4 separate regions of the Homo sapiens genome follow, and all the other regions are linked to region 1. The links are contacts of gene promoters, found by promoter capture Hi-C in blood cells and fetal thymus (Javierre and others, 2016). All regions are on one chromosome and are shown on one strand. Each heading gives the region's core, a stretch centred on a gene start or on the middle of the fragment in contact. The rest is flanking DNA. Distances are from core to core; before and after follow the strand shown. Region 1 holds the start of GCNA (germ cell nuclear acidic peptidase). Region 2 has its middle 68 kb from the start of SNX12. Region 3 has its middle 31 kb from the start of SNX12. Region 4 has its middle 12 kb from the start of SNX12.

What was found. Contacts are between HindIII fragments. The CHiCAGO score rates a contact against its expected background, and 5 or more counts as called.
Region 2: a contact is called between a fragment that was not itself captured here and the fragment with the promoter of GCNA in region 1, in 1 of 17 cell types (naive B cells). The highest score is 5.1, in naive B cells.
Region 3: a fragment that was not itself captured here is called in contact with the fragment with the promoter of GCNA in region 1 in 1 of 17 cell types (non-activated CD4 T cells); the score reaches 5.2 in non-activated CD4 T cells.
Region 4: a fragment that was not itself captured here is called in contact with the fragment with the promoter of GCNA in region 1 in 1 of 17 cell types (non-activated CD4 T cells); the score reaches 5.6 in non-activated CD4 T cells.

Annotation. Positions count from the first base shown.
Region 1 is chrX:71,576,724-71,580,668 of GRCh38, forward strand. GCNA (germ cell nuclear acidic peptidase) reads left to right here and starts at 1,714. Exons shown (of 13, transcript NM_052957.5): 1 at 1,714-1,799. RefSeq lists an enhancer at 1,921-2,562. The HindIII fragment of the contact is 6,206 bases long and covers 1-3,945 here.
Region 2 is chrX:70,998,044-71,001,988 of GRCh38, forward strand. No RefSeq gene overlaps it. Among named protein-coding and RNA genes, the nearest start is that of SNX12, 68 kb to the right of the region's middle. The HindIII fragment of the contact is 397 bases long and covers 1,715-2,111 here.
Region 3 is chrX:71,035,299-71,039,243 of GRCh38, forward strand. No RefSeq gene overlaps it. Among named protein-coding and RNA genes, the nearest start is that of SNX12, 31 kb to the right of the region's middle. The HindIII fragment of the contact is 4,300 bases long and covers 1-3,945 here.
Region 4 is chrX:71,054,465-71,058,409 of GRCh38, forward strand. No RefSeq gene overlaps it. Among named protein-coding and RNA genes, the nearest start is that of SNX12, 12 kb to the right of the region's middle. The HindIII fragment of the contact is 5,418 bases long and covers 1-3,945 here.

The DNA.
Region 1 (3,945 bases), core at 464-2,963:
TTGGTGTTTGTTTCCTAAAAGATTATTATGGGAAGAAAGCCTACTCAAAAGTTTTTACTCCCATTCGCTTCTCTTGAAAAATCTACATTATTTCCAGTCTACTTCAGCTCCTCCTGCCTTCAATCTAAAGGAGTTGCTTGCACACCTTGAGTAAATGTGTGTAATTTCTGAACTGCCCATTTTAAGATTTGATTCCAAACCTATCCCATTCTTTTACTTGAAGCATATGCCTCTCAATTATAGCTAACATCCTGGTTCTTTGCCCAAGCCTCTGAGGCACAGTTATGTAATCCCCATTCTTATAAAGAGGCTTGTAGAGGTTAATTTGCAACTTCATTGTAGAGAGAGAGAGTAATCAGCCCCCTTTATCCAATTTTTTTATCAACTGAGAAAGTATCTGTATTTAGGTAGGCAATCTGGTGCTTAAGAGCAGGTTTTGGAACTAGAGTTGGAGTTTGAATCTCAGCTCTGCCACTTTTTTTTTTTTTTTTGAGATGGAGTCTCGCCCTGTCCCCATGCTGGAGTGCAATGGCACGATCTCGGCTCACTGCAACCTCCGCCTCCCAGGTTCCAGCGATTCTCCTGCCTCAGCCTCCCGAGTAGCTGGGATTACAGGCGCGGGCCACCACACGCGGCTATTTTTTTTTTTTTATCTTTAGTAGAGACGGGGTTTCACCATGTTGACCAGGCTGGTCTCAAGCTCCTGACTTCGTGATCCACCCGCCTCAGCCTCCCAAAGTGCTGGGGTTACAGGCGTGAGCCACTGTGCCCGGCCAGCTCTGCCACTTTCTAGCTGTGTGATCTCTAAAATGAGAGTGCTAACAGTTGCCTACTTTTTAAAGTGTTGTATGAATTAAGTCGTAAGACACTTGGAATAATGCTTAGCACAAAATAGTATCAAACGCAGGGACATTTTATGTGTGTTCTGTTACCCAAAGGCATACATTACGAAATATATAGATGCTCGCTGGAGAAACTGGCACAATCTAGAAAGCGCTGTTTTCCCCGTTTGTTTTTCTTGGTGTGTATGGAGTGAGTGCCAAAAAGCCTCAAGTAACCTTTTTTTATCTCCAGGGTTTGGAGGGTTCTGGAAGTAAACATCATAGTTCGCCGTTGCCAGGCGCTGTTGAGTTGCTGCCTTGCTCTTATCTAGGGGTCTAGATGGCCTTCCCTGCAACCCCCGCCCCCCTGCGCTCCCGCGTCCCCCCGCGCCCCGCCCTCCCCTCGGTGTTCCCGTCCACGCCCCTGCTCCCGCGCCTTCGCTCCAGTTCTCGTGCCCCCGCCCCTCCCCCCGCGCCCTTTCCCAGTGGTTGCAATAACGGACTTAGAGGTCTGGACAATTCAAGTAAGGAACAAGGCTCGCTTATCCAAGTTCTCGCAGGATAAAAGTTTGTTATGAACGATTTCACATGGTTTCTCTTTATCAGAAAGTTGTTAGGGACTTTTAATCGCAGAATTGGCCTCGGGTGCCCACGCTCTAGTATTGAAATGGCGGTTTTGGGACAAATAAGCAACATCCGTGGGAGTGGAAAGCGACAGACCTGATCCCGGAAGCGTTACAGCTAGGCGCCAAGTTCACAGGCGCGAAGTTCAAATTTGTCTTGTGACCACTGTGATAGGTGGGTACAGGGGAGCGCGGGCGAGCACACGTGAATTACTGCTACCGCCCCCTAGGTCCGGGCACTATAAAGGGGCCTGCGCCTGGCGTTGTTCATCGCAGTTGCTCCGGATCTTTGCACACACTCCACGGGCAGTTGGAGGTGAGCTGCTGCCGGCCACGCCAGAGGCTGCAACACCAGGTAGGTGACCGGCTGGTCGGACTGAGATGGGTGCTGAAGTGGTCCAGAGGTTAATCCTAATTGAGTGACTTAATTAAAATCAGGACCACTGTATACCTTGGACTCTGGTTGCCCGTGTAGGCCTGAGGTGGGAGTAGAGGAAGTGGCAGCGAGGGGAGAAGTGGAGGCGCCAGTGGTAGCATTGGGGGAGGTGGGGGCGCCCATGGTGGTGTAGGAAACATATGGTGGCGCCAGTGGCGGCATTGGGAGGGGTGGGGGCGCCGGTGGCGGCGTAGGAGCAGCTGGTAGTGCCAGTGGCGGCGTGGGGAGAAGGGGCGCTGGTGGCGTCATTGCAGATAGTGGGGGGCCTGGTGGTGGCGTAGAAGGAGGTGTTGGTGCCAGTGGCGGGTGGAGAGAAGTAGGGGCACCAGTGGCGGCGTTGGGGGAAGTGGGGGTGCCTGTGGCAGTGTCGGGGAAGTGGGGGTGCTGGTGGTGGTGTAGGAGCATGTGGTAGCACCAGTGACGGTGTGGGGAGAAGTAGGGGCACCATTGGCGGCCTTGGGGGAAGTGGGAGCGCTGGTGGTGGCGTAGGAGCGTGTGGTGGCGCCAGTGGCTATGTAGGAATACGTGGCGCCGGTGGCGGCGCGGGGAGAAGTGAGGGCGCTGGTTGCGGCACTGGGGGGAGGTGGGGGCCCCAGTGGTGGTGTAGGAACAGGTGGTGTCCCTAGTGGCGGGTGGGGAGAAGTAGGGATGCCAGTGGCAGCGTGGGGGGAGGTGGGGGTGCCAGTTGCGGCCTAGGAGTACTTGGTGGCGTTGGTGGCATAGGAGCACATAGTAGCGCTGGCGGTGTGGGGAGAAGTGGAGGCGCCGGTGGCCGCATTGAAGGTGGGGGTGCCAATGGGGGCGTTGAGGGAAGTGGGGGGTTCTGGTGGCGGCGTAGGAACACTTGGTGGTGGTGGAAGTGGCCTAGGAGCACGTGGTGGTGCTGGTGGGCGTGGGGAGAAGTGAGGATGCTGGTGGTGGCATTGGAGGTGGGGGTGCCAGTGGCTGTGGGGAGAAGTGGGGGTGCCCGTTGCAGCATTGGGGGGAGGTGGGAGCTAGTGGTTGTGGGTAGGGGTGTGTGTGTGGGGGTTGAGGTCTCTTTGGCTGAGGACTGAGTGGTGGTGGGAGACAGGAGTGGGGTAGGGCAGAAGTTGGATAGAAGTGTGGGGGAGTGGAAGCCTGCTTGGAAAACCGGTTGGGAGCAGTTGAAGGTGGCTGGAGGTGGTTGGAGGTGCGAGTGTGGGGGAAGGGTGGTGGGGTTGAGGCCTGATTGGTGGAAGACTGAGGTGAGAATGGTGGGGGTAGGGTCCAGACCTGATAGGAGGAAGGAGTTGGGGAGGGGTCAAGGCCTGTTTGGTCGAAGATTGGCTAGAGGCTGGAGGCAGGAATAGGAAGCGTGGAGGGGGTGGCCGGATTCATATAAGACCAGTGAGAAGCCAGAGTGGCGGGAGGTAAGGGGGCAGTGGAGGTTGGACAGAAGGAAGAAGGTGATGAGGGGGCGGTGGTAGCCTATTCTGGGTAAGATTGACAGAGTGGGGAGTAAAGAGGTAGGGGAAGGGGGAGAGGTTGACACCCGGTAGGTGGGAGACTTCCTTGGGGCAGGAGTAGGGGGACTGAAGGTTGTAGGGAGGTGGAGGGCCAGTGGGATGTGGGGGCGGTCGAGCCCTGATACGTGGAAGACTGGCAAGTTGAGGTGGGAGTGGAGGGAGTGGGAAGTGGGGGCGGGTGCAGGGTGGGAAGAGATTGGGGTGGTAGAGGCCTGAGTGGGAAAAGTTTGCAACAAAACAAATTTAAATCCTTTTCATTTTGCAGAGCAAAGTTTCGGCTTTAAGGTGGGGAAGATACCCAAAGATAAATGCAGAATGTAAATGTAGAGATGTCTCTGCTTTTGAGTTCTGGCTTTCTTTTTTTTTTCTTTTTATTTTATTTTCTTTTTCTTTTTCTTTTTTGAGATGGAGTCTAGCTCTGTGGCCCAGGCTGGAGTGCAGTGGCACAATCTCGGCTCACTGCAAGCTCTGCCTCCCGGGTTCACGCCATTTTCCTGCCTCAGCCTCTCGAGTAGCTGGGACTACAGGCGCCCGCCACCACGCCTGGCTAATTTTTTGTATTTTTAATAGAGATAGGG
Region 2 (3,945 bases), core at 663-3,162, 580 kb before region 1:
TTATGTTGCCCAGGCTGGTCTTAAACTCCTGGGCTCAAGTGATCCTCCTGCTTCAGCCTCCCGAAGTGCTGGGATTACAGACATAAGCTACTATGCCTGGCCATGTATTTTCAAATGGCCTGTCTTCAAGCTCATTAATTCTTTCTTCTGCTTGATCAATTCTGCAATTAAGAAACTCTGATTCATTCTTCAGTGTGTCAATTACATTTTTTAACACCAGAATTTCTGCTTGATACTTTTTAATTATTTAAATCTCTGTGTTAAATTTATCTGATAGGATTCTGAATTCCTTATCTGTGTTATCTTGAATTTTCTTGAGTTTCTTCAAAACAGCTATTTCAAATTCTCTGTCCGAAAGATCACATATCTCTGTCTCTCCAGGCTTGGTCCTTGGTGCCTTATTTAGTTCATTTGGGAAGATCATGTTTTCCTAAATGGTCTTCGTGCTTGTGCATGTTCGTCAGTGTCTAAGTATTGAAATGTTAGGTGTTTAGTAGTCTTTGTAGTCTGGGCTTGTTCATACCCGTCCTTCTTGGGAAACTTTCCAGGTATTCGAAGGGACTTTGGGTGTTGTGATCTAAGTTTTTGGTCACTGTAGTCACATCTACGTTAGGGGGCACCCCAAGCTCAGTAACACTGTGGCTCTTGCAGACTCATTGAGGTACTGCCTTGGTGGTCTTGGATCAGATCCGAAAGAATTCTCTGGATTACCAGACAGAAACTTTTTTTCTCTGCCCTTACTTTTACCCAAACAAACAGAGTCTCTCTCTCTCTCTCTCTTCTCTCTCTCTCTCTCTCTCTCTCTCTGTCTCTGTGCCGAGATGCCTGCAGCTGAGGGAGGGCAGAAATGCTTTTTTAAGTTACCACCCAGTTCTAAAGTTGCACTTTGATTAACTTGGTTATTTCCTATGTTTTCATTAGCAACACAGTTGTAAACCACTTCTCCACATAGTTAATCTCATCTCTTAAATGACAGTTATTATTAAAATTTCAATGAGTAATTCTTTTTCTGAGTTCTTAGTTTCCTATATACTTATTACAGCATTAATCATGTTACCTGACAATACCTACTCACTAATCAATTCCCAGTGAGAATTGTTAGACACTTATATCCAGTAGCAAGAAAGAAAAAAATTAAAATCCTTAAGACAAATAGTTAGGGATATGCTTTCAAATCTGGGATGTACAGTAATTGAAAGTGTGAGCCTCCTTGGCAACTCCCAGAGGACATACATTAACAGTAATCAATCCACTGTGTGGCTTGTTACATAAGTACTATAGAAGCCTTGGGAACATTTGGAATCTGACAGAAGCCTTATGGAAGTGGTTCCATGGGGGTTGGCTATTTGCATATTTTCCTCCTATTACAGATAAGGGAAAAAAGACTGAAAGAATATATACCAAAATGTTAATATTGATTATTCCTGGGGAGTAGGGCTGCCAGTTTTCTTTTATTTTTTATCTGTATTATCTAAAATTTCTAAAATAAATATAACTATTATAAGAAAATTCCAAATAATAAAAGTCCAAAAAGATGGTTTGTTTTAACAGTAAGTAAGCTGAGTTGCATTTTCTACCATCTGTTTCAGTCAGGGAAATGAATAACATCTTCTAGGGCAAAGTAACAGGGTAAATGGAGACCCAGAGAAAGACTGATTGTTCTCTATGATAAGCATTCTCTAGAACATAAAAGGAAGTAATGAACAGGACTCCAAGCTTTGTTCTTTTGTGTCTCACTCCCTCTCGATTCTTCTCTGGCTTTGTTCCACACTCTGAACATCCTAAATCAACTTACAAGTGGTGGTCACCAAAAGAATCTACAAGGAAGATTGTCTCTCTAGACTCTGATTCCATCAAATATCCCCTTTCTCTTCTATTTTCCACATTTTCTTATATACCTACAGACAGGCTTAACGTTTCCCCATTCTAAAACAAAGTTAAAACACTATTTCTCCCCTATCTCGTTACAAACTACCATCCTTTCTACCTCCTTCCTTTCATAGCCAGATTTCTGGAACAATTAATCTACAACCACTGTCCTTTCGCCCTGTCCATTTGTTCAATTTGCTGCAGTCTGCCTTCTGCCGTGACTCCAACAAACTTTAAAGGAAAGCTTCCTAGTTGCTGAACTTATTGGCCCATATTTATACAGCCTAAGGCGATTGGTTGCTCTTATTTCCCAGAAGTTCTTCTTGGCCTCTGGGAAGAAAGGAGTGAAATGGGAAGAAATGACACTACTGTCTCTTCATTTTTTTTTCTTACCTTTCCCTTTCAGACTTCCCTCTTCTGTTCAACACTTATTCATTGGGATTCCCTAGGGTTATGTCCTAGTCTCTTATCTTCTTACACCACCTGGAACAAAGTTTATCTACTTACACAGCTTCAACTATCATCTATACAATGACAGATTGCAAAATTTTTTTTACAGTTAAATCTAAGTTGCTTTATTCTTTTTTTTTTTTATATATATACTTTAAGTTTTAGGGTACATGTGCACAATGTGCAGGTTAGTTACATATGTATACATGTGCCATGCTGGTGTGCTGCACCCATTAACTCGTCATTTAACATTAGGTATATCTCCTAATGCTATCCCTCCCCTCTCCCCCGACCCCACAACAGTCCCCAGAGTGTGATGTTCCCCTTCCTGTGTCCATGTGTTCTCATTGTTCAATTCCCATCTATGAGTGAGAACATGCAGTGTTTGGTTTTTTGTCCTTGCGATAGTTTACTGAGAATGATGATTTCCAATTTCATCCATGGAAATTTTTAATAATAGCCTCGAACTCTTGCTTAAGCTCTAGATTTGTATTTCCAAATTACAATTAAGCATCTTTACCTACAGGTTACAAAGAGGTACCCTAAGCTCCACTAGTCTAAAATCAGACTTACCTTCTCTACTGCCACAATTTACTAAATTCTTGAATTACATTCTCATTCACAATCGCAAGCCATGTTCCTAAGCTAGAAGCTTTTGCTTTTGCCTTAATTATCCCTTCTCCCTAACGCTGCACATCTAATCAATCAGCATACAGTCCTGTTGATTTTAACTCATAAATATCATTCTGTCAAGCCTAGCCTTTCCCCCATACTGCCTCGATCTTGGTTCAGACTCTCATAATGTCCAGCTTGGACTATTACGTCTGCTAAGTAGTCCTGCCACCAATCTCTCTCCATTCTACACCTGTTCAACTTCCACACTACTTTCGAAATGATCTTTACAAAACAAAACTCACTCTTTTGACTCCTCGGTGCCTACAGGATAAAACACAACTCCTTGGTCTAGCATGTTAGGATTCAGTCCAGGTTGTTAGCCTCACGCTCTACTCCACCCCCAAACTCCTGCATGCTAAGCTTCTCACCATTCCACAAACACAGCAGGCCCTATAATGTCTCCATGTCTTCACACATTGTATCCTGTCCTCTTAGAATGTCCTTTTCTTTCTTCCTCACCTGACAATGTCCTACTCATCCTTTAGTATGTGTCTTCTTGGGAAAGACAAACTAGCTATTATTTATCAAGGAGTTTTGCTAAACAATTTATGTTCATTAGCTTATTTTAATCCTCAATCAATTCTATAACTACTATTATCATTTTACAGATGAAAAAGCTGAGATTTAAAGGGGCTAAATAGCATTGTCATCTAGTAAATGGTGGGATTTAAATATAGGTCTTCAAAACCTGAACTTTTAACCACTATGCTACAGGCAATGTGTATTAAACATAGTTGATTGTTCTGTTCTCTGTGTTCCCATAGCACTCTGTTCACCACTCTGCAATGGCAGTTACCACACTAGAATGTAATATTTCTGTTTACACAATATCATCCCCCACTAGATGTAAGATACATGGTGATAGAAATAAAATATTGCAGCCGGGCATGGTGGTGTGTGCCTGTAGTCCCAGCTACTCGGGAGGCTGAGGTGGGAGGACTGCTTGAGCCT
Region 3 (3,945 bases), core at 723-3,222, 540 kb before region 1:
AAGAGAAAATACTTGAAAAACATATATCTGACAAAGGACTTGTAAGCAGAATATATAAAGAACTCTTACAAATCAATCATTTAAAAATGGATTTAATCCAACTTTAAAATGGACAAAAGATTTGAATAGATATTTAGCAAAGATATTTGAATGGTCAATAAGCACATGAAAAAGTGCTTGACATCATTAATACTCAGGGAAATGCATATTAAAACTACAATGAGCCAGGCACAGTGGCTCACACCTGTAATCTGAGCATTTTGGGAGGCCGAGGCAGGTGGATCACTTGAGCCCAAGAGTTCCAGACCAGCCTGGGCAACATGGTGAAGCCCTGCCTCTACAAAAAACAAAGCAAAAATTAGCTGGGTGTGGTGGCATGGCCTGTAGTCCCAGCTATTTGTACTACTGCACTCCAGCCTGGGATCCTATCTTTGGAAAAAAAAAAAAAAAAAACTACAATGAGATACTACTACACACCCACCAGAATGGCTAAAATGTTAAAAGACTGACCATACCAAGTGTTCGAGAGAATGAAAAACTACTAGAATTCTCATATATTGCTAGTGGGAATAAAAAATGGTACAACCTGTTTAGAGAATTACTTAGAAGTTTCTTATAAATTTAAATACACATCTATCCTATAGTCTAGCAATTCCACTTCTAGGTATTTACAAAAAAAAAAAAAAAAAGGAAGCATATGTTTATAAAAAGACTTGTACCAGAATGTTTACTTCAGCTTTATTCATAGTAGCCAAAAACTGTAAATAATCCAAATGTCCATCAATAATAGAATGGATACGCTGGTTACGGCGGCTCATGCCTGTAATCCCAGCACTTTGGGAGGCCAAGGCAGGACCTAAGGTCAGGAGTTTGAGACCAGCCTGGCCAACATGGTGAAACCCCATCTCTACTAAAAAGTACAAAATTAGCTGGGTGTGGTAGCACATACCTGTAGTCCCAGCTACTCAGGAGGCTGAGACAGGAGAATCGTTTGAATCTGGGAGGTGGAGGCTACAGTGAGCCGAGATCATGCCACTGCACTCCAGCCTGGGCAAGACACAGCAAGACTCTGTCTCAAAAAAAAAAAAAAAAAAAAAAAAAAAAGAACAGAATGGATAAACTAGCATAGTCATACAATAGAATGCTACTCAGCACTGAAAAGGAACAAACTTGATACACACAATAACATGGATAAATCTCAAAAACATTATGCTGAGCAAGGCCAGGTACAGTGGCTCATGCCTGTAATCCCAGCACTTTGGGAGGCCAAGGCAGGTGGATCATTTGAAGCCAGGAGTTCAAGACCAGCCTGACCAACATGGCAAAATCCCATCTCTACTAAAAATACAAAAATTAGCTGAGCATGGTGGCACATCCCTTTAATCCCAACTACTTGGGAGGCTGAGGCACAAGAATTGCTTGAACCTGGGAAGCAGAGGTTGCAGTGAGCTGAGATCGTGCCACTGCATTCCAGCCTGGGTGATGTAATGAGAGTCTGTCTCGAAAATAAATAAAATAAAATAATATTACATTCTCACAATGAAATGCTATACAGCCTTTTTTTATTTTTTAAGAAATGGGATCTCACTACGTTGTCCAGGCTATTCACAGACATGACCATAGGGCACTACAGCCTTGAACTCCTGGACTCAAGCGATCTTTCCACCTCAGCCTCCCAAAGAGCTGAGACTACAGGCACCATACCACTGTGCCCACCTTACAAAGCCACTTAAAACAATAGTGTAATCTATATTCATTGACATAGAAAAATGTCCAAAACGTACTGTTGAGTGAAAAAAAGGATTAAAAACAGCATGAAATAAAGAAAAATAAGTTAAACAAGATATTTTTCACCTATCATGTTGATAAGGATGAAAAAATGATTGATAAATGATAAAGATTGAAAAACGACCTAATTCTGGCAAGTATATGGGGAAAACACATTTTTATATACTGTTAGTGGAGTGTAAATTGGTAGATTCTATAGGGCTATATGACTATACTACTAAAATTGTAAATATGTTTATCATTTCACACAGCAATCCATTTCTAAAAATTTATCCCACAGTAATACTCACAGAGACACACAAAGATTTATGTACAAAGAGTATTGTTTTACATATAATCTATGCACAAAAAAGAATGCAGTAGTATTTGCAACAGTCAAACATTAGAACAATGCCTGTACAGTGAATCTGGCAAAATGAAATAATGGTCCATGTATACAATGGAACACCATGCACCTGTTAAAATCAATGAGTTGGCCGGCGAGGTGGCTCACACCTGTAATCCCAGCACTTTGGGAGGCTGAAGCGGGCAGATCACCTGAGGTCGGGAGTTCGAGACCAGGCTGGTCAACATGGTGAAACCCCATCTCTACTAAAAATACAAAAAATTAGCTGGGTGTGGCGGCAGGCACCTGTAATCCCAGCTACTTGGGAGACTGAGGAGGAAGAATCGCTTGAAACTGGGAGGCGGAGGTTGCAGTGAGCTGAGATCATGCTACTGCACTCCAGCCTGGGCTACAGAGCAAGACTCCATCTCAAAATAAGTAAAATAAAATAAAATAAAATAAAATGAGTTGGTGCTATGTGTAGTGAAACAATAAAAATGTCAAAAATAAAGTTTGGGCCGGGCACAGCGGCTCAGGCCTGTAATCCCAGCACTTTGGGAGGCTGATAGGGGGGGATCACCTGAGGTCAGGGGCTCGAGACCAGCCTGGCCAACATGGTGAAACCCCGTCTCTACTAAAAATACAAAAATTAGCCGGGCATGGTGGCACACACCTGTAGTCCCAGCTACACGGGAGGCTAAGGCAGAAGAATCGCTTAAACCCAGGAGGCGGAGGTTGCAGTGAGCCAAGATTGTGCCACTACCCTCCAGCCTGGATGACAGAGCGAGACTCTGTCAAAAAAAAAAAAAAAGTTGTGGACAGAGAATGAGATATTGGAATTGTATATTTTCAGATATAGAGTAATTCTGGGAAATGACAAAATCCAGAATGAGGCTAATAAATTTTCTTGCAGAAGTAGAGTGGAGAAGAGCACTAGAAATGGTCAAGGAGCTGTGAAGGTAGAGTGTTGCTTGGCCAGTTCATCCACAGGAGCATTGTGATGGGCTGGGAGGTAGAGAGCAGATGCTCAAGTCTCCATAGAATATCAGGAAATATTCAAGAAGGCAATAAATGACTACATCGAGAAGGAATAAAAGGTAATATTGCAAAAGGCATGAGCCTTAAAAGAGAGGCCTTTAATGTGAGGGTTGAAAGCAAAGGTCTAGAAGCAGTGATGAAGAGTAGGAATGATGATGACTTCTGGGAAACAAAAATTACAATGATTAATAACTCTCCAGTATCAGTGAGGTATAAGAAAACAGGCATTCATGTATGCTTGGTAAGAAGGTACATTAGAAAAAACTTTCTGGATAAAAATTTGGCAGTATTTATCAATTTTTTTAATGTTTGTGTCATTTGATTCAGCAGTTTCAAATCCACAAATCTATCCTACAAATATATTCACATGTACCCAAACATACATGTATTAGCATTTCACTGTGGCATTGTTTGTAAAACTGGAAACAACCTAAATATTCATCAGTAGGGATATTTGTTCAATCAGTTATGTGAGGCTTTCACTCAAGAACCATAGCAATACAGAGGGCACACCCTGGGAGAGAAGCCGGGTTTCAGTTAAAGCAAGCAAGTGGAGAGAGAATTCAGTGAGGAAATTTAGGGTACAGTAGAGTCTGTCTACAATGGTACCAGTTTTCCAGAAAACATAGTACAAATAATTGGCAAGAGAGGCAATAGTGGGTGGATGATGGAGGGTAAGGAAAAGTGTAGAAGAACAGAAGGAAGCCCAAAGGGGTTCAAGACAGAGTGAACAAAAAGGCAGATGATCAAAAAGGCTTGCAGTATTAATTGGTTTTCAGTTAACTGGACTCTTC
Region 4 (3,945 bases), core at 540-3,039, 520 kb before region 1:
ACACACACACAGTAAAAGACACACACACAGTAAAAGGCACACACCTTTTGACCCAGCAATTCCTTCTCTCAAAATCTATCCTACAGAAATACTTACACACTGGAGCAAGGTTATATGTAGCATTATTTATAATAGTGAATGATTGGAGACAAATTTGCATCAATAGGTGAATCATTAAATTGTGATACAACCATACCATGAAATGTTATGCAGTCATTTTTTAAATGAGGTAAATTTCCATGTATTAATGCAAGAGGAGGTCCAGAATACAATGCAAAGTGAAAAAAGTTGCAAAACAGTACATATAATATCCCATTTCATTTAAAAAAAACCTATATACAAATGTGTGGGTATTCATATATGTATATATGTGTATATTAATATATAAACACAAACAGAACAACATCTGGGAAGACACACACCAAATTAAGTTATTCTTGGAGAATGGGAGTGGTGAGAGGGACTAAGGAAAAATCTTTCACTTTTTACTTTACACATTTATGTTTTGCTTGAATTTTGTTGGCTAACATTAATAATTTTTGAATTTTTATCACAATAAAACATTTTAACAAAATAGGCACTTTTGTAATCAGATCAATAGAGTTATAATGTATGTGTTTTAAATAAAAATAGCTCCATGGGGGCTGGGCGTAGTGGCTCACACCTGTAATCAATCCCAGCACTTTGGGAGGTCGAGGTGGGCAGATCATACGGTCAGGAGTTTGAGACCAGCCTGGCCAATATGGTGAAACCCCGCTTCTACTAAAAATACAAAAATTAGCCGGGCGTGGTGGCATGCCCCTGTAGTCCCAGCTACTCTGGAGGCTGAGGCAGGAGAATCGCTTGAACCTGGGAGGCACAGGTTGCAGTGAGCCAAGATCACACCACTGCACTCTGGCCTGAGCGACAGAGCAAGATTCCCTCTCAAAAAATAAATAAATAACGCCATGGGGTGACTACTTCATTTTAAAATTTTAGCTAGAAGACTTAGGATACAATTAGAACAACTGTAAACCAAATCAACTCTGAGTTTCAATGGGGGTATACTCATGACTTGATATAACAGGATGTGGGCAAACAAAATCTAATCAGGATAATCGTTCATTTCTGAAAGAGAAAACTACACTACAGCAAACTCCATCATATAAAGGAAAAATTGTGCTTTCACTTTTTTGGTGGCATCACCTCCAATGTTTACTCAACTCCTTGGCAAGGGTGGGAAATCATAAAAAGCTAGAGATTTAAGATACCTCAGAGATCATTTGGTCAAAATCCCTCATTTAGTCGAAATCCCTCATTGTATAGTTCAGAAAACAGGCCTAAAATGGTGAAGCAATTCAACTAAGGTCCTATAGCTAGCTATATAGCCAATTTTAGAAGTCAGGTTTCTATTCCAGGTCTGGTACTCTTTCTGTTTCTTTTCAGATCTTCCTGAGTCTTCAGTATGATGAAATTATGAAATATTTTTAAATTTTATGATTAGACATCCCTATATTTAAATGTTACAACAAAAATGCCTAACAAAATTAAAATGTACATGCCTCCATTAGTACAGATGATGAAAAGTTCACTGTATCTAGACAAAAAATATTATTGGTATAACATTCTCTTGAAAAGTAATACATAAATCAGGCCAGGTACAGTGGCTTACGCCTGTAATCCCAGCACTTTGGGAGGCCGAGGCAGGCAGATCACTTGAGCTCAGGAGTTCGAAACCAGCCTGGCCAACGTGGTGAAACCCCGTCTCTACTAAAAATACAAAAATTAGCCGGGTATGGTGGTGCCACGCTTGTAGTCCCAGCTACTCGGGAAGCTGAGGCAGGAGGATCGCTTGAACCTGGGAGGCAGAGATTGCAGTGAGCTGAGATCACGCCACTGCACTCCAGCCTGGACAACACTGTGAGACTCCATCTCAAAAAATATATATATACATATTTTTTTTCTGTGAATCTGAATGTATTTTACTGTTTACCTAAGAACTACTGTTTTATCCCAATTTCTAACTGTTCTTCAACTGGCACTGCCTCTTAACCCTTTATCTTTAGTTTCTTTATATCAAGCAGTTGATGACCTATATAAAAACACTTAAAACCACCACAGGAAACACCTATTTAAAGGAAGCCTGCAGTGATTTAAAGAATTCTTTTTTGATGTTGACAATTATCCCTGGTTTGTCTGTTTTATAAGGAATGAGTTCTCTGTTTTTAAATGCATAGACAGACAGGGTATGGACAGAAGAAATAAAATAGGCAACAACTGGTTTTTGTACAAACAAGGTAAAAAAAGAAGATAAGAATGAGGGGTGGTGGGTGGTCAGGAAGGGAGTGGCAGAGAACCACATGCTAAATTAGTCACTAAGACTTTATATTTCAAAAGTAAACTCAAATACTAAGATATATAAATGGAATAACAACTACCTAACCTTCAGGCTGTAATTAAAGTGTTGTCCAATTTAAGACTCTACAACTTGAGGACATGTGAGGGCCTTGGAGAGATTTCAGAATAATAAAAAGATAAAAGGGTTAAAAATGAGCCAAGTAAGGAAAAATTAGAACTTATTATATCTAAGAAGAGAATACTAAGGGTGACTCAACAGTTTTCAAGGATATGAAGAAATATCCATTTCAGTGAGCAGCTGTTCTACATTTCCACAAAAGAAAGTAATTTTACTTAAATTATTACAGCATATATTTCAACATAGAAGTAGGAATATCTTCAACATAGAAGTATCTCATGTAGGATAACTATCAACTCCAGAGAAGCCTGAATGTTATCCACCTCTCCCACCTTTACTGGCTTAATTCCTTGTCTCAAAGAATGGGTCAAAGGGTAGATAAGGCATCTTTGGAATGTGAAGATTTAGACTTCTTTTGGGTCTAGCTATGTTCAAAATTTTTCGTTAGCCTCTGTCCCCCAGGTTCCAGCATAAGGTTAAGCCCTTTCTGCACTATAGATAAAGGGGATTAATTAGTGGTAAACATGCAAATACCCATGTAAATTAGAATTCCTTATCAAAGAAAAGTATGCTTCTCCTCAGTGTTAATGGGTAAGAGGGTTTGGATTTAGGATTCTTGCCTGGCCCAGTTAATGTGCCAAAATGGCCAATTTGACATCCAAGGGAGATTTACCTGGCCTGATATTTTTAAAAAAGAAAAAGACTGGACAACTAACCAGATGTGCCTGAATCTCTTACTCTGTCTCTAGCATTTTCCTGCCTTGTATAGACATCTCTTCATTTTGTTTTGAGGCTGGAGTGCAGTGGTACAATCATGGCTCACTGCATGGCTCACTCCACAACCTCCTGGGCTCAAGCAATCCTCCGGCTTCAGCCTCCCAAGTAGCTGGGACTATCATGTGCCACCATACCTGGCCAGATTTTTAATTTTTTTTTTTTTTTTTTTTTGTAGAGATGAGATCTCACTCGGTTGCCCAGGCTAGTCTCCAACTCCTGGGCTCAAGCAATCCTCCCAAAGTGCTGGGATTACAGGCATAAGCCACCACGCCCAGCTAAACATCTCTTCAACTGAACTCTTAAGGTCTACGAAAAAAGAGAATGTAATATCATATTTTACTTGTACCACAACCACTCCACCCTATCCCCAGCCCTGCTGTTAGCATAGGACCAGACACACAGAAGACTATTAGCACTTGTTAAATGAGTTGTCATCTGTCCAAATTTTTGTTAACACTTTATTTTATAGCTGCTTTTCTATTTATTCTGCAGTTCATTCTCTAACACTGCTGCCTATGAAGGTTGCATCTCTCTTTACCCTTCCTTTCCTTTATTTCACAGAAATACCCATTCTTCCCTATCCCCTCAGATATTTTTAGTCATCTCATTCATGAACTACCAAAAACCTCAACTTCCTCACAGCCCCCACTCTTCTACTTAGAACCAAATACTGCTAAGTAACATTAATTTCCTTTTTTTTTTTCTTTTGAAAT